2 separate regions of the Homo sapiens genome follow, and region 2 is linked to region 1. The links are contacts of gene promoters, found by promoter capture Hi-C in human tissues and cell types (Jung and others, 2019). All regions are on one chromosome and are shown on one strand. The core of a region is centred on a gene start or on the middle of the fragment in contact, and the rest is flanking DNA. Distances in the headings are between cores, read along the strand shown. Region 1 holds the start of LRRC63 (leucine rich repeat containing 63). Region 2 overlaps LRRC63 (leucine rich repeat containing 63).

Region 1 (3,440 bases), core at 510-3,009:
CAAAAACACGTTATTTTACAAAAGAAGAAAGAAAATTGAGGGGATAATATTTTCAAAAATATAAGAACTATAAAATAATCTAAATTGAATTTTGTTTGTCCTGTCTAAACTCATCCTATACTGATATATCATTTCCATAGACAAAGCGAGTCAGATGTGTTAGAATAACATATATACATATAAAATATACCAAGCCATGGATTTAATTTTCATAATAACTATCTCATTTGCCTAAATGTTTGGTACTAAGTGGTAGAAATAGAAGACAAAATGTTCACACCTGAGATTACATATTAAACCGCCCTAGGTTTTAGTCTCATACTTGCTAGAAGAAATCTGCAAGGAATGATACCTGGATGCCTGCGGATTCCAAGTGTGACAAAGCATTTTTTGAAAAAGCATTCAGAAGCCTTGCTTTCGACTACACAAAGCTAAGCATAAATTTTAAAGGCCAAACGTCAGTCAGTAAAACTGAATTCCTGTAGTTCTCATGGTTCCAACGATCTTGAAGAGCATAGGTACCTGACTCAATTTACACTGTCATTTTTTATGCTTAAAAATATAAACCTTTTTTCACATTTACAAAATATGCACGATATATATTACTTGAGACTAATCTTAGCCACAGAGCTGCCTTTTATTTTCAGCTTTGTATTTCTGAGAAACTAATGAATCTATGGTGTAGATAACAGCAAAAGTGGAAATAAATTCATAGTCTGGGGCAGCAGTATAATTGGGACACAGTAAACTTACAAGGAAAAGAAACAGTACACTACTACTGTAAAGGAAAACAAGTTGCATAATATTTTCCAGAGTCTGATTACTTTTTTGTTAAAACTTTTCTACTTTTTTCATTGATTGTTTTAAAACATGTTTGCTACTAAGGAGAAAAAGGAAGACATGGTTATGGTGTGAATCTTGAAAGATCCCCAAAGCTAGAAAGATTTATACAGAAGTCTCTCATTTTCCAACTTCTGTTATAAAGTTCCTGCGCTAGTACTTAGAAAAAACCAAACCTGGAAGGAAGCTCTACCTAGTTTACTTTCTGAGTTCGGATTTCCGCATCTATCAGATGAGCTCTTTCTAGTGCTCTTTCCCCCTCAAATCTCCAGAGAAACACGCACATTTTTGCAAACACACACGATGTATCTATGACTGCACACACAGGTTCATCAACACCATGACAGAGGCGACACGTCACAATATGATAACCAGAACAGAGGACGATGACAGTGAGAAATGGGTTTCTTTTATGGCCCGCTTGGATCCCTAATGCCCTTATTTCTACACAATCCAGCCTCAGCCAGGAACTTTAAAGGATCAGAAAGAGAAAACAGGTTGCATGAAAGGAAGAGAAAGAAAACCGAATGCCCGCTTTTCGAGAGCACTGCAAAATTAGCCCCGGGACCCGGCTGCACAAAAGTGCAGCCTTAAAGAATGCCAGCCCATATTCTAGACACCCAAGTAAAGCATCCTGTAATCGAGAGAAAATAATAAATAATAGTGGTCATTGCCATTAAGCATAAAAATAGTAATAACAATTGTCACCACGGCGTTCCGTACAGCAGCTGCGCGTGGAGCCGGCTTCTCCTCCGGCCCCCACGGCCCGCAGCTTCCCCTGCAGCCCCACAGTGCGTCGGAGGAAGGCGAGGGCTCCGCGCGCGCTGCACCGTGGGCTGGGCCTGCCCCTCCCGGCGCCCGCCTCGCCTCGCCTGTCCCGCGCCCGCCTCGCCTGTCCCGCCCCCGCGCCTGCGCGTCAAGTGGCTGGGCTGGCTTAGCGGACCCCGGTTGCTAGGGTGTGTCTCCTTGGCCTCCTAGAGGGTGGGGATCCGTGGTGCTTCTTCGGGAACAGCCTCCTGCAGGAAGACCCTCGCTGGACCTTTACCTCGCTGCCTAGATTCCGAGGAAAAGGAGATAGGAGACGAAAAGCCAGTTGGTTTGGAAAGCGGCCGATTATCCTAAAGGGTAGTGTGGGAGTCCAGCACTTCCATGCCCCTCTTTGGGTACTACGGAAGGGAGATTTCCAGCATCGTGTGGAACATATGACCAGGGAGTACACCTTGAGCGCTTGTGTGCAGTTATCTTTTGGCGGTAAACGGCCCATTTGTGCAGTTTCAGGGTGTTCCCTTCTAGGCTATCAATGGAATAATGCCGTGCCAGGCACTTTTGATGTTGCCCTGCAAACTAAAAGCACATTTTGGGGGTGCATCTTCTCGCATTATTTCTAAACAGTATGAGTTGGGATCCAGCAGCCCTGGGAAATCTCATTATAGTGAAACCCATCTTATTTTAGGATTGAATTGTTTTGGCCCAAGCATAGTGGTTGAAAAACAAGCCATTATAGAAAGAAAACAATTTGTTTGTGAATGGTTAGATATGGTGGGTCTTCAGAGGCTTATCTAATGAAGGCATCTTCTACACATTTCTGACCAAATTCTCTTTCTACATTTATAGCGATAACATTTTGGAGAGAGAGAAAAAAAATGTCATTTCGACTATTCTGAAAAATCAGTATTTACTAGTTGAAATAGCATTGGCAAATTGAACTTTGTACTAACATGGAAAATTGTAGAATGATCCTGGGTAGTAATAATACACATATTTTTAAAATTCTATGTTTACTTATAACCCTACATTTTAACTGGATTCTTTCTATTAATAGAAGTTTTAAAGAATTATTTTCTTACCCTCTTTTTTTTTCATAAAGGAATTCTGCCTGGATTCAGTAGAGTATTGGTACAGAATGATTTTCTTTAAGATGTAATCTAAATTCTTATTATTTTTCAACAATTCAAACATATTCAAAACCTTTTCAATTCTCATTTAAACCAAGGATTATGAAAAACAGCACTTATTATTCATTAAAATGCAAAAGCCCCCACTGCTTCTTCGAAGACCCTTACCTCCAAAATTCACTAAGCTGTCTTTACATGAGAAAAAAACCCATACAGGTATGTGTATTAATCAGATATGTGTATTAACATTTATGTATCTTTCATAGAAATTCCTTGACTTGCACAGCTCAGAATCACAATAAATACACTCACTAATAACTTACAAATGTTTGTTGTCAGGTGATAACATCCAATTCAATTCCACAGATGCATTTACTGATACTTATTGGTGGACTTAGTAGATTCAAGTTTATCTCATCGATAAAATTTACTTGTAACCCCAGAATTGGTACTCAAAGGGCTTTCTCAGTCATGCGTGGATATGTGCAGAGCACTGAAAATGAGTCACCCAACACACATGCCTCCAGCTGAGGTGGAACAAGGCTACCTCTACCTTCTTGTTTCAGCTCTCATATTGTAAACGGGTACTGTTTTCCCTGTCTGTTTAGCTCTATGTTTCTTGAATGTTTGTGCTTTTAGTTAGTGATTTCACTGTGGGCCCCAAGCATAGTGTTGAAGTACTGTCTAGTGTTCCTGAGCACAAGA
Region 2 (3,440 bases), core at 676-3,175, 63 kb after region 1:
TTGTTCCCACAGACACATACATACACAGTGAGGGTGCACACATGTGAGAAAGATTCCATTTCTGTAAGAAACAGTTACTTATCTAGGAGCTGGAGGGGACAACCCAAGGGAAGAGCTTTAGTTATTCTAGGGAGAGGAGTTCCAGTGATTGAAGAGAGGAATAAGCAGGAATCTCTGTGTTTTTCTCTCTATATTTCCTTATTGTTTGGAAATTTTACAAGGACTCATTTTCATGTAAATAAAAACTGACACAAGTGAATTATAAATAAAAGCAGCTGGAGGAGGAGCTGATAACAAATAGTTGGGGACATAGGGGAAAGATTCAGGGATGAAATAGTATTTGAGAAGGGTCTTGAAGGACCAGTAAAATTTGGAACTATGTCTTGTGTTCAAGGGACATTCCAGAAAGAGGAAACAAAATGGGAAAAGAGGGATGTGTACAAAGAGAAAAATAAATATTCAGCCAGAACAAAACATCCATAAAGGGTAGTGGACCGGGCGCGGTGGCTCACTCCTGTAATCCCAGCACTTTGGAAGGCTGAGGTGGCAGATCATGAGGTCAGGAGATCGAGACAATCCTGGCTAATGTGGTGAAACCCTGTCTCTACTAAAAATACAAAAAATTAGCGGGGCGTGCTGGCGGGCACCTGTAGTCCCAGCTACTCAGGAGGCTGAGGCAGGAGAATCACTTGAACCCAGGAGCCTGAGGTTGCAGTGAGCCAAGATTGTGCCACTGCACTCCAGCCTGGGCAACAGAGTGAGAATCTGCCTTAAAAAAAAAAAAAAAAAAAGAGTAGCGGTGGCTGGGCATGGTGGCTCACGCCTGTAATCTCAACACTTTGGGAGGTGGAAGAGGCTGATCACCTGAGGTCAGGAGTTCAAGAACAGCCTGGCCAACATGGCAAAACCCAGTCTCTACTAAAATTACAAAAGTTAGCTGGGCGTGGTGGCACATGCCTGTAATCCTAGCTACTTGGGAGGCTGAGACAGGAGAATCACTTGAACCCAGGAGGCAGAGGTTGCAGTGAGCTGAGATCATGCCAGTGGACTCCAGCCTGGGTGACAGAGCAAGACTCTGTCTCAAAAAAAAAAAAAAAAAAGTACCAAGAAGTGAGCTAAAAAGAAATAAATGGAGTTAGCTAGTTGTCCATTGGAGATCACTGAATGCATTGGAAGTTTTTTTCTTCAGGCCTTGAGAGTCACTGAGTCCAAATAGCACAAATAGACCTGGCAGTATGTCACAGATAGACTAGTGCAGGGGAAGGCTGGGTGGAGGTCAGTTAAAACACTCATGTCCATAACAGGTAAGGAGGGATTGATCCAAAGTAATAAGTATGGGTATGAACAGGCAGGAAATGCAAGACAAATTATGGAGGTAAAATTAACATACCTAGGTATGTGAGCCGAGTGAGAGAGGGAGGATGAAAAATGACAAAGGGTTCAATCTCATCAAAGATGACTGTGACATTAGTAAAAATAAGAACAGTGAGGGAGGGATTTGTCACCCAACCACTGTCATCCTCCAGTGTCTGCCCTTGGCTTTAATCCTGAATTGCTAGCTACTGAAAATTTCGGTACTGTCCTACTTTCGCTGAGTTCTTTGGATTGCAGCTCAGCTGTAGGCTTGCACTAAAGTCACTCTAAGCTCAGCTACTGCTGTCACTCCAATGGCTGCCCTGTCAATTAGCAGCTATGTATGTCTTTTCTGTCCTGTACAACTTATCATTGCTGTCTGCCTCTCTCTGTCTCTCTACCCACATTGTATCACCTCAGACAGAGAATCCACTTCCATTGAGAATGGGGTCAGAAGACTCATGTTCCACAGATTTTTACCTTGACTTCCTTGAGCATAAGAATGATAGAAATTTTTGTTTGTTTTTATTTTTTTCTTTTATTTTTAGTTGGCACATAATTATACATATTTGTAACATACAGGGTGATATTTCAATACATGTATATAGTATGTAATGATAAAATCAGCTTAGTATATCCATCACCTTATTTATCATTTCTTTGTGTTGTGAACATTTAAAATCTTCTAGCTTTTTGAAAATACACAATAAATTATTGTTAACTATATTCACCTACAGTGCTATAGAACACTAAAACTCCTATCTACCTGTGATTTTTTTTCCATTTTTAACCTCTCCTATCCTCCTCTTCCTCTTACCCTTCCCAGCCTCTAATAACCACAATTCTACTCTCTACTTCCATGAGCTCAATTTGTTTTTAGTTTCCACATGAGTGCCGTTCTGTGCCTGACTTATTTCACTTAACATAGTGTCCTCTAGGATCATCCCTGTTGCCACAAATGACAAGATTTTATTCCTTTTATAGCTGAATAGTATTCCATTGTGTGTACATACCATATTTTCTTTATCCATTCATCTGTTGATAAACATTTAGGTCAACTCCATATCTTGGCGATTGTGAATAGAGCTGCAATAAATATGGGGGTGCAGCTGTCCCTTCAATATACTGATCTCCTTTGCTTTGGATAAATACCCAGTAATGAGATTGCTGGATAGTATGATAGCCTTATTTTTAGTTTTTTGAGAAACCGCCATCCTCCATTCTGATGGCTGTACTAATTTACATTTACCACTGAAACTGTGTAAGAGTTGCTTCTTTTCTGCGTCTTTACCAGCATTTTTTACTTTTTGTCTTTTTTATAATAGCCATTCTCACTAGAGTAAGATATCTTATTATGGTTTTGATTTGCATTTCCCTAAATATTAGTGATGTTGAGCATTTTTTCATATACTTATTGGCCAATTTATATGTCTTGTTTTGAGAATATCTATTCTTTGATCATTTTAAAATCAGATTTTTTTTTTTTGCTGTTGAATTAAGTTCATCATATATTCATTAGTGCCTTGTCAGATGAATACTTTGCAAATATTTACTCCCATTCTGTAGGCTGTTGATTCTGTTGATTTTTCCTCTGCAGTGCAGTAGGTTTTTAATTCGAGATTAGTCCCATTTGTCTATTTTTATTTTTGTTGCTTATGCTTTTCAAGTCTTAGCCATAAAATCTTTGCCTAGGTCAATGTCCTGAAACATTTCCACTGTGTTTTCTTCCAGTGGTTTTATAGTTTGTTTAAATACTTAAACATATTCTTATAATCTGATGATTGTGAAATGGTATTTCTTTGCTATTTTGTTTTGTATTCCCCGATTACTAGGGAGATTGAAAAGCTTTACCTGTGTTCTCTTGACATTCATTTTTTCTTCTTCTGTGAATAGTCTATTCCTGTACTAATGTTAATGTACTAATGGATTAATATTTTTTAACTGATTTCTAACCATTTAAAAATACATTATGGACTCTAATTCCATACTAGGTTATGATAGTACCTTTATTTTTTTAAATGATATATTTATTTTGTATCATAAAAAATAACATGTTTATTATAAAAAATTAGAAAATAAAGAAACAC

Evidence for each region. The method cuts DNA at HindIII sites, captures the fragments that hold promoters and counts their contacts. A contact is called where the count stands out against the background at its distance.
Region 2: a contact is called between a fragment that was not itself captured here and the fragment with the promoter of LRRC63 in region 1, in 1 of the 25 tissues and cell types used here (dorsolateral prefrontal cortex).

What each region holds. Positions count from the first base shown.
Region 1 is chr13:46,210,169-46,213,608 of GRCh38, forward strand. It overlaps LRRC63 (leucine rich repeat containing 63), which reads left to right and starts at 1,760. Exons shown (of 10, transcript NM_001282460.2): 1 at 1,760-2,091; 2 at 2,834-2,951. The coding sequence starts at 2,867. LOC107984578 (a long non-coding RNA gene) reads right to left here and starts at 1,684. Exons shown (of 4, transcript XR_001749863.3): 1 at 1-1,684. RefSeq lists a silencer at 1,516-1,845. The HindIII fragment of the contact is 9,677 bases long and covers 1-3,440 here.
Region 2 is chr13:46,272,830-46,276,269 of GRCh38, forward strand. All of the region lies in intron 9 of LRRC63 (leucine rich repeat containing 63), which reads left to right. It overlaps LOC105370194 (a long non-coding RNA gene), which reads right to left. Exons shown (of 3, transcript XR_941946.4): 3 at 1,872-3,440. Among named protein-coding and RNA genes, the nearest start is that of LINC00563, 23 kb to the right of the region's middle. The HindIII fragment of the contact is 5,403 bases long and covers 1-3,440 here.